Linked DNA regions of Homo sapiens: region 1 is linked to region 2. Evidence: promoter capture Hi-C in human tissues and cell types (Jung and others, 2019). All regions are on one chromosome and are shown on one strand. The core of a region is centred on a gene start or on the middle of the fragment in contact, and the rest is flanking DNA. Distances in the headings are between cores, read along the strand shown.

The links. Contacts are between HindIII fragments. The study calls those that stand out against the background at their distance.
Region 1: a contact is called between a fragment that was not itself captured here and the fragment with the promoter of SNX27 in region 2, in 1 of the 25 tissues and cell types used here (hippocampus).

Annotation. Positions count from the first base shown.
Region 1 is chr1:151,148,023-151,153,471 of GRCh38, reverse strand. It overlaps a transcript of LYSMD1 not described here. Among named protein-coding and RNA genes, the nearest start is that of SEMA6C, 4.1 kb to the right of the region's middle. The HindIII fragment of the contact is 4,054 bases long and covers 1-3,901 here.
Region 2 is chr1:151,608,625-151,613,625 of GRCh38, reverse strand. It overlaps SNX27 (sorting nexin 27), which reads right to left and starts at 1,576. Exons shown (of 12, transcript NM_001330723.2): 1 at 1,114-1,576. The coding sequence starts at 1,424. LOC124904420 (a long non-coding RNA gene) reads left to right here and starts at 258. Exons shown (of 2, transcript XR_007066622.1): 1 at 258-435; 2 at 1,227-3,109. RefSeq lists a silencer at 1,221-1,660 and an enhancer at 1,701-1,800. The HindIII fragment of the contact is 9,196 bases long and covers 1-5,001 here.

The DNA of each region.
Region 1 (5,449 bases), core at 625-3,124, 460 kb after region 2:
CATATTGGCCAGGCTGGTCTCGAACTCCTGACCTTGTGATCCACCCACCTCGACCTCCCAAAGTGCTGGGATTACAGGCGTGAGCCACTGCGCCTGGCCACAAATTTTTTTTAGAGATAGGGTCTTGCTATCTTGCCCAGGCTGGAGTACAGTGGCTCACACTGCTCACTGCAGCCTTGGACTCCTGGACTCAAACAGACCTCCTGCCTCAATCTCCCAAAGTGCTGAGATTACAGGAGTGAGTCACTGTGTACCCTGGCCAAATGACGGTATCTTAAATGTGCAAAACACTTTTGAATTTGCAAAATGTTTCACCTACAGGATCTTATTTGATCCTAAGAAGTAGGCAGGAAGGTAGTATGTCCACTTACAGAAGACAGAATCAGACTTAGAGATAAGTAGTTTATCCAAAGCCATACTCCAGAGATGAATCTAGCTAAGTCTCAATGACTTTCAATGGTGCTCTTTCCACTGTATAATCTACAGGAAGTGAATAGTACTTTTTTGAGCAATTTCTACTTTGAAGCAAAATGAAGATATTTTGCACTTAATTGGATAAACTTCAGTTATTTGGAAAAGTATTCAGGATGGAACAGTCCGATGTTTGTTTTAGGTGAGGTTTTACCATGGTTAAGATCAATACTCTCATATCAGTTCAGAAAGAGTAAGTTTAGTGTGATTTAAAGCAGTCAAGTAAGTCAGCCTGACATAGCTGGAGATAGTTCACAGCTTTTACTCTTTTTTTGTTTGGGGTATTTATTTATTTATTTATGAGATCGAGTCTCACACTGTCGCCCAGGCTGGAGTGCAGTGGCATGATCTCGGCTCACTGCAACCTCTGCCTCCTGGGTTCAAGTGATTCTCCTGCCTCAGCCTCCCAAGTAGCTGGGATTACAGGCGCGCACCCCCACGCCCGGCTAATTTTTGTATTTTTAGTAGAGACGGGGTTTCACTATGTTGGCCAGGCTGGTCTTGAACTCCTGACCTCATGATTCGCCCAGCTCGGCCTCCCGAAGTGCTGGGATTACAGGTGTGAACCACCGTGCCTGTCCTATTTTTATTTATTTACTTTTTTGAGATGGAGTCTCACTCTGTCGCCCAGGCTGGAGTGCAGTGGCACGATCTCGGCTCACTGCAACCTCTGCCTCCCAGGTTCAAGCTATTCTCCTGCCTCAGCCTCCTGAGTAGCTGGGATTACAGGCGCGCGCTACCACGCCCAGCTAATTTTTTGTATTTTTAATCGACACGGGGTTTCACCATGTTAGCCAGGATGGTCTCGATCTCCTGACCTCATGATTCGCCTGCCTTGGCCTCCCAAAATGCTGGGATTACAGAAATGAGCCACCATACCTGGCTTGTTTTTTTTTTGTTTTTGTTTTTTGTTGTTGTTGTTGTTTTTCCTCTGAGCCATAGGATGTTTGTTTGTTTTTAATCTTTGATGCATTTATTTCTTCCTCTACTTACTGTATGCCAGGCATTACAATTAAGTGCTGGGGATAAAAAGATAAAAGACAAGCTTCCTGTCTTTTTTTTTTTTTTTTTAAGATGGAGTTTCGCTCTTGTTGCTCAGGCCAGAGTGCAATGGCGCGATCTTGCCTCATGGCAACCTCCACCTCCCGGGTTCAAGTGATTCTCCTGCCTCAGCCTCCTGAGTAGCTGGGACTACAGGCGCCCGCCACCATGCCCGGCTAATTTTGTATTTTTAGTAGAGACGGGGTTTCTCTATGTCGGTCAGGCTGGTCTTGAACTCCCAACCTTAGGTGATCTGCCCACCTTAGCCTCCCAAAGTGCTGGGATTATAGGTGTGAGCCACTGCGCCTGGCTACTTCCTGTCTTTAGACTAAGTGGTAAACATGAAAAATCCAAATGGAAGTATCCAATAAGCAATTGTATACATGAGTCTAGAACTCAGGAGAAAGACCTGAGTTGAACACCTAGATTTTATGGTAAGCAACATATAAACAGTTTATTGTGGCCGGGCGCAGTGGCTCACACCTGTAATCCCAGCACTTTGGGAGGCCCAGGCGGGCGGATCATGAGGTCAGAAGATCGAGACCATCCTGGCTAACACGGTGAAACCCTGTGTCTACTGAAAATACAAAAAAAAAAAAAAAATTAGCTGGGCATGGTGGCAGGTGCCTGTAGTCCCAGCTACTCTGGAGGCTGAGGCAGGAGAATGGTGTGAACCCGGGAGGCGGAACTTGCAGTGAGCCGAGTGAGCCACTGCACTCTAGCCTAGGTGACAGAGGGAGACTCATCTCAAAACAAAACAAAACAAAACAGTTTATTGTAACTGTTGGTTTTGTAACTGTTCTCATTGTCGGATTATCTTGACCAATGAGAATGGGTAGAGAAGAAAGAGGTGGCTAAGGACATGACCATAGGGAACACCAGCATTTAGAGAGGTCAGAGAAGGCTAAGAAAGGTCATATTAGGCTGGGTGTGGTGGCTCACACCTGTAATCCCAACACTTTGGAGGCTGAGGTGGGCAGATCGCTTGAGGTCAGGAGTTCGAGACCAGCCTGGCCAACATGGCGAAACCCTGTCTCTACTAAAAATATAAAAATTAGCTGGGCGTGGTGGTGGGCGCCTGTAATCCCAGCTACTCGGGAGGCTGAGATGGAGAAGCGCTTGAACCCAGGAGGTGGAGGTTGCAGTGAGTGAGCCAAGATTATGCTACTGCACTCCAGCCTGGGGCGACAGAGTGAGTCTCTGTCTCAAAAAAAAAAAAAAAAGAAAAGAAAAGAAAAGAAAAGCCATATTAATAGAAGTGAAACTATCCATTCATTAAAAATACATATTTATTAAGCCCCTAGTCTTTGTTAAGAGAAAGAGGGACCTCAGGAGCCAAAAGAAGAAAGCATTTCAAGGAGGGGGGAGTCAACAGGTCAAATGGCACAGAGAGGGCAAAAGGATAAAGACTGAAGAGTTGTTCATTGAATGTGACCAGGAGGTCGTTGGTGGCCTTAATGAGAGCAATCTCAGTGGACTGATGGGGACAAAAACTAAAATGATTGAGAATGAGAATCATGAAAATGGATATAGCAAGTATAGGTAACTCTAGAAGCTTAGTTATGAAGGGAAGAGAAATCGAGTGATGACTGGGTGCAGACAAGGATCAAGAGAAAGTTTGGAATGTTTTCCTTTTAATCATGGGAATTACTTGAGCATGTGTATATGCTAAGGGGAAAATATCAGTAGAAAAGGACAGGTTAAGACTGGGAATGGTGGCTGACGCCGGTAATCCCAGCAGTTCGAGAGGCCGAGGCAGGAGAATCACTTGAGCCTAGGAGTTCAAGACCAGCCTGGGCAACACAATGAGACTCTGCCTCTATTTTTTTTTTAAGTTAATACTTTCTGTGTGCAGGCACTATGCTACAAGGAAAGGATACAGTGTTGAGCAAGATAGACAACCAGGGACTGCATACAACTTACAGTAAAGTCATAGGTGAACCTTCGACAGGTGATACGGATGGCATTCACTAGGATGAGAGAGACATGATGCAGGTAAGTATATCTGTAGGGAGCAAAAAGTTGGTGGAATTCTCACTTTATTATCTCTGTTTTCTCTGAAGACGGATGAGGGTTTTCCTGAGATGAACAAGGAAATGGTAAGGAAAGGAACTTGCAAAAAAAGGAGGAAGTTTGAAATATCTCCCTGGGGATTGGAAGAGAGTGCTTTTCCAATCCAATCTGTGGGACTGTGTGATTTCCTTTTTTTGAGATGGAGTCTCGCTCTGTTGCCCAGGCTGGAGTGCAGTGGTGCGATCTCGGCTCACTGCAAGCTCCGCCTCCTGGGTTCAAGCAATTCTCCTGCCTCAGCCTCCCCAGTAGTTGGGACTACAGGCGCACACCGCCACGCCCGGCTAATTCTTTTTATTTTAGTAGAGACGGGGTTTCACTGTTGTTGCCCAGGCTGGTCTCGAACTCCTGAGCTCAGGCAATCCACCCGCCTCAGCCTCCCAAAGTGCTAGGATTACAGGCCTGAGTCACTGCGCCCGGCCAGGACTGTGTGATTTTCTTCAAAACACTAAGGGAGTAGGAAGAGAGGTTTTTTATTTTTATTTTTATTTTTTTAAGAGTCTCCCTCTGTGTCACCCAGGCTGGAGTGCAGTGGCACGATCTTGGCTCACTGCAATCTCCTGTCACCTGAGTTCAAGCAATTCCCCTGCCTCAGCCTCCTGAGTAGCTGGGATTGCAGGTGCCCATCACCACACCCGGCTAATTTTTTTTTGTATTTTTAGCAGAGCTGGAGTTTCTCCATGTTGGCCAGGCTGGTCTCAGAACTCCTGACCTCAGGTGATCTGCCCACTTCGGCCTCCCAAAGTGCTGGGATTACAGGGGTGAGCCACCTCGCCCAGCCAAGAGAGTCATTTTGATTTGTCCTTCAAAATAGCTCTCAGATTCATGTATTTCTTTCTAAATCTGTTCCCATCACCCTTGTCTGATTGTCCCTCTCCCCTCACCTTTAAACCTTGTTTACTTGCTAGTAGGTCTCTGTCTTCTTGCTTAAAAAAATAAAAAAATACAAGTTGCACCCTTTTTCAAGAATTTAAAATGACGTCCTACTCCTGTCAGATGATTTTAACCAGCTCACCTAGTCATTCCAGGCCTTCTGTAATTTGTCTTCCCCTTTTCCCTCCCCTTGCTCCTAACTAGTGCCTTTCCCACACACCAGCCTCACAGGACCTTTTTTTTATCCATGCTGCAGGCTCCTTGCTAACCAAGTAAAAGCTTTTGCTGAAGCTGTGTCCCTCGGGAACATTTTCTTCTTTTGCACCAAGCCAACTCCCACCAAAGTTTTCCTGTCCTTCATGATAAAATGTATCCAGCATCTTTCTGTGCAGTCTTCGGAGAATATTTATTGTCTTCTTTGCACATTTGGAAATTTATGTTCAATGTAGCTTTTCTTTTGAGACTTGGTGTTGTCTTTTTAATAGTTTAGTACTATTAAATATTTAATATTTAGTACTGTCTTTTTAATAGTTTAGACTTTTTAATAGTTTAGTATGTGCAAATCTTATTTTAATTCAAATATATTATCATTTTCTTAAAGTCTGGAACCACAACCCACAGTGGATTGTGTAGTAGATTGTGTCTCAAGTAAGTGTTTAATACTTACTGGATTGAACTGAGATTTGAGCTGGGTCCTAAAACTTTAAATGAATTACACCTTAATCCCCACTCACTAATCTATTCCATAAGCATGTATCTGAGTACCTAAACCCTGTGCTAGGAGCTGAGGAGATTTCTTTTAACCTCTCAGTGCCTCTGTATTTTGAGGTGTCTTTCTCTGAAAATTTCTTTCCAGCCTTTAAAACAACCCCAACTGTCTGACAGTTTGTTGAATTGCCTTGGACCCAAGATCCCTCGGCCGTTAATTCTGTGTAGATATTGTCCCTGTTTATCTTCTTCTATTTTTTTTAGATCTGACTTTACTGAGTTACTG
Region 2 (5,001 bases), core at 327-2,826:
GACTGCAGCAGGGGAGAGAGGGTGGGCTGCAGCAGCAGAAGGCGCCTTAAAAAACAGAAGAAAGGAAAAGCAGCCTAGGGGAGGGAAAGACTAGGACAAAGTCAAGTGTGGGATCACAGGAGGATAGAGTAGAAGAGGCAGCAGAGACGGGCATGCCCTAAAAAAGCAAAGCGGTCAAAGACCCAAAAAGGGCTTGAAGTAGTTTTGAAGGAGGAGGAGTTACAAGGGGTCTACCATAAACCTGACTAGGAGGAGGCATGAGTATAGAGCAGGAGTGAAGGCAGGAGGCCAGGGAAGGGATGCTCTCAGAGGGGTGTGCTGATGGAGACGCTAGATTCCAAATTAGGGTGTGATACGGGGCCAACCGAGAAGAGAAACTACGGTGTCAAATCCCACGCCCCCCACCCCAAAGGCATGCAAGGGTCAGAAAGCAAGGTAAACTCTTGGAGTAGAAATACAAAAAGGAGGGGAGGAAAGGGGCACACGGTGGGATGGAAAAATTTAGGGGCAGCGTAACCATGAGGAGAGGGTAACTAAGGAAAGAAAAAGGAGACGAGCGGGGAGGGATGGTGTTTCCGGAGGAAAAGTAGGAGCAGACCAGAGGTCCTGCCTACTTGGTCTGGAGGGCAGAAGGGGCAGTCCACGGGGGCGGAGGGGAGTGGTGGAGAACGAAACTGCGATGCTGAAGATGAGAACTTGGGGGGGACACGGTACTGGCTGGATCAGAAAACGAAACGCCGTCAGTAAGGAGCAGATGAGGTTCCTTCTGAGCAAGACGAGGGGGAGTGAGGAGCAGAATGCAGCACGCCAAACGGGAAGGCAAAGGGGCGGAGAAGAGCCCAGAGTAATCGGGGCACAGGGAGGAGCACTGGGGGCGCAAGGGCATCAGCTGGAGACGACGGGGTGGGAGACCGGCGTCGCAGAAGCCCCGGGGCGGGTGGTGGGAGGGCAGCCCACAAGGAGGGGCCCGGCTGCGGAGGCCTGAGGGGCGGGGGTCCGGAGGCCGGCTCGGAGCTCGGGGGAGGTGCGGCCTGGGGGTGACAAGGGTAGCGAGGAGTGCAGGGGCAGGAGGGGCGCGGGGAGGATGGGGCGGCGGGTAGCCCCGATACTCACACCTCCAGGATGCGGTCCCCCTTGCGCACCCCGGCCCGATCGGCCGCCCCCCCGGGCAGCACGGCGCTCACATGCTGCAGCGGCGCGTACAGCTCCCCGTTGATGCTCCGCAGTTGCCCGCCCTCGCTCACTTGGCCCCGCACGTTGAAGCCGTAGCCGGACTCGGACTTGACGATGCGCACGACCCGCGGGCCGCCGCCTCCCCCGCCGCCGTTCCCGGCGCAGTGGAGCCCAGACCCCCCGCCGCCGCCGCCACCTCCGTTCCTGTGAGGGGCTGAGGGATGAATCCCTTCCCCGTCCTCGTCCGCCATCTTGCGAGCAGGCGAGCCGTACCCCCGCCCCCTACGCCTCCAAGGCCTCCCGGCGCGTGCTCGCCCTGCCTGGCAGCCGGACGACCCCCGACGCGCGCGCCCGATCCGCCGGCCGCGGGACCGACTCGGCCACCGAGCTGCTGGCGCGGGGTGAAGAGGAGGCAGGGGGCGGGCGAAAAGCGGACAATCGGGCACCGTGGGGCCTCCTGGGAGATGTAGTTTATGGGTGGCGGGGGCGGGGAGCGGTCTGGGCCTGGGCCTGAGCCGAGGTTATAAGACGCAGTTCGGAAGCAAGGCCTGCCGGGAGTTGTAGTTTATCTTTCATGCTGGGTTAGGAGTTTGATCTGCTGGGTGGGGAGAGTATAACCCAGCACCCAGCGTGGTAAAATGATTCAGTTCTTGATGCGGACCAAGTTTTTCGCCCCCCCCCCTTTCATTTCATAACCTCTAAAAAACAATAATGTTAGAATAACTTAACGTTTGTGATTCAACACAGTCTTAAATTATATCAACTCATTTTTTGGCACAGTAACTTATATGTTGACCAGGGCCCAACAACCTGTGAGGCAACCGGATCACGATTAGCTTCCCTATTTTACGTTATTAGGAAACAACCTTAGAGTGCTCAAAGTCATCCAGCTACTAAGTATCAGGAACTAAGGCCCAGTTATTGTGCAACTTTCTTGTCCTGTATTGCAACTACAGTCATGTGCCACATAAGGACATTTTGGTCTACAATGGACTGCAAACACGAGGGAGGCCCCCTAAGATGATAATGGAGCTGAAAAATGTCTATCACCTAGTGGCACAGTAGCCACCATAAGGTCATAGCACAAGCATTACTCACATGTTTGGAGTGATGCTGGTGTTAACAAACCTGCACTGCCAGTCATGTGAAAGTATAGCACATATGATTATGTACAGTACATAATACTTGATAATGGTAAGAACTATGTTACTAGTTTATGAATTCACTGTAGTTTTTATCACTATTTTAGAGTGTACTCCTTCTACTTTTTTTTTTAAGTTAACTGTAAAGCAGCCTCAGGCAGGTCCTTCAGAAGGTATTCTAGGTATTCTAAGTATTGTGATTTTTTTCCACGTATTCCAAGTATTGTGTTTTTTTGTTTTGTTTTGTTTTTTTGTTTTTTTTTTTTTTAAGATGGAGTTTCGCTCTTATCGCCCAGGCTGGAATGCAATGGCACGATATCGGCTCACCGCAACCTCTGCCTCCCAGGTTCAAGTGATTCTCCTGCCTCAGCCTCCCAAATCCCTTGCGATTAAACGCATGCGCCACCATGCCTGGCTAATTTTTTGGTATTTTTAGTAGAGACAGGGTTTCACCATGTTGGCCAAGCTGGTCTCGAACTCCTGACCTCAGGTGATCCAACCACCTCAGCCTCCCAAAGTGCTGGGATTACAGGTGTGAGCCACTGTGCCTGGCCCCAGTTATTGTTACCATCAGATGACAGCTCTGTGCATGTTATTACCCATGAAGACCTTCCAGTGAGACAAGAGATGGAGGTGGAAGACAGTGAAATTGATGATCCAGATCTGGTGTAGGCATAGGCTATGTTTGTGTTTAAGTCTTAGTTTTTAACCAAAAAAAAAAGTTTAAAACATAAAATTAAAAATTGCCTTAAATAGAAAAAAAGCTTATGGAATAAAGATATAAAGAAAGAAAATATTTTGTACATCTGTACAATGTGTTTGTGTTTTAAGCTAACTGTTATTACAAAAGAGTCCCCCCAAATTTTTAAAGGCTGGGTGTGGTGGCTCATGCCTGTAATACCAGCACTTTGGGAGACCGAGGTGGGAGGATTCCTTGAGCCCAGGAGTTCAAGACCAAACTGGGCAACATAGTGAGACCCCATCTCAACAAAAAATAAAAAATTAGCTGGTGGCTGAGCGAGACTATATCTAAAAAAAAAAAAAAAGCAGCTGGGCATGATGGCACATACCTGTAGTCCCAGCTACTTAGGAGGTTTAGGTGGGAGGATCGCTTCAGCCTAGGAGGTCAAGGCTGCAGAGAGCTGAGATCACACCACTGTACTCCAGCCTGACCATCAGAGTGAGATCCTGTCTCCAAAAAACAAAGATGAGATCTCACAAAATATGGGATGAGGACTCAAAGTCATTATAATTAGAACATAAAAATTAATATGACCTTATTTTACAACCAAGCTAATGAAGAAGGATCTTGACTAGTTACACAATAAAGTTGATATAAGAGTTTTGCTCCAAAATAATAGTGGCATTTGGATTGAATATGAATAATTTGGTTTGAACTGAGCACTGGATGGGGAAAGCAAGGCATCAGAGAAAGGAAAAAGAAGGGAGCCTCCCCTAAAAGAGTTATTTTTTCATTGGTTTATTAGATAAAAATATACTGAATGCCTACTCTGAATTAGATAAAAATATACTGAATGTCCCCGAAAGGCAACAGGACATGGTCAAACTTACAAATACACATATTCCTCAAACTGAAGGCGATTCCACTTCCAGGAGTTCATTCTACTGTTACACTTGCACATGTGTGAAGTGATGTTTTTATGAAGTTAAGTCATTGCAGCATTGTTTGTATTCACAAAAGACTGAAAACAACCTAATGTTTATTTGTTAAATCATAATGTATCCACAATGGAAAATTGAATCAATGTAAACACAGAATAAGGAAGCTCTGTATGCACTTATATGGAATGATCATATCATCAATACTATATATGATTTGGTGAAAACAAAGTGCAGCACAATCTATACAACATGATACTATTTGTATATAAAACGGGAACCATGGGCCAGGCACGGTGGCTCACGCCTGTAATCCCAACACTTTGGGAGGCCGAGGTGGGTGGATCACCTGAGGTCAGGAGTTTGAGACCAGCCTGGCTAACATGGCGAAACCCCGTCTCCACTAAAAATACAAAAATTAGCCGGGTGTGGTGGTGCACACCTGTAGTCCCAGCTACTCGGGAGGCTGAGGCAGAAGAATCACTTGAACCCGGGAGGTGGAGGTTGCAGTGAGCTGAGATTGTGCCACTGCACTCCAGCCTGGGCAACAGAGCAAGACTCTGTCTCAAAAACAAACAAAACAAAACAAATACAAAAATTAGCCGGGCATAATGGCAGGTGCCTGTATTCATCAGAAGGCTGAGGCAGGAGAATCGCTTGAACCTGGGAGGTGGAGGTTGCAGTGAGCCAAGATCACGCCACTGCACTCCAGCCTGGCGACAGAGCAAGACTCCATCTAAAAAGATAATAATAAAATAAAAGGGAACCATATATATTTTTATATCTTTAGAAGTATTCACAAGAAATTGATAACACTGATTGCTGCTGGGGAGGGAGACTGGATAGCTAGGGTGTCAGAGGCGGGGACAGGGGTAGGAGAGAGACTTTTCACTTTATACCTTTATGTAACTTCTGAATTTTCAGTCACATGAGTGTTGCCTATTCAAAAAATAAATTTAAAAATATTTAGAAAGGATCAGGTTGGAAGAAAAGATGATCAGAGCATTAAAATAACAAAAGAAAATAAGACACCATTACTGCTGGTGAGAATTCACAATCTAGCAGG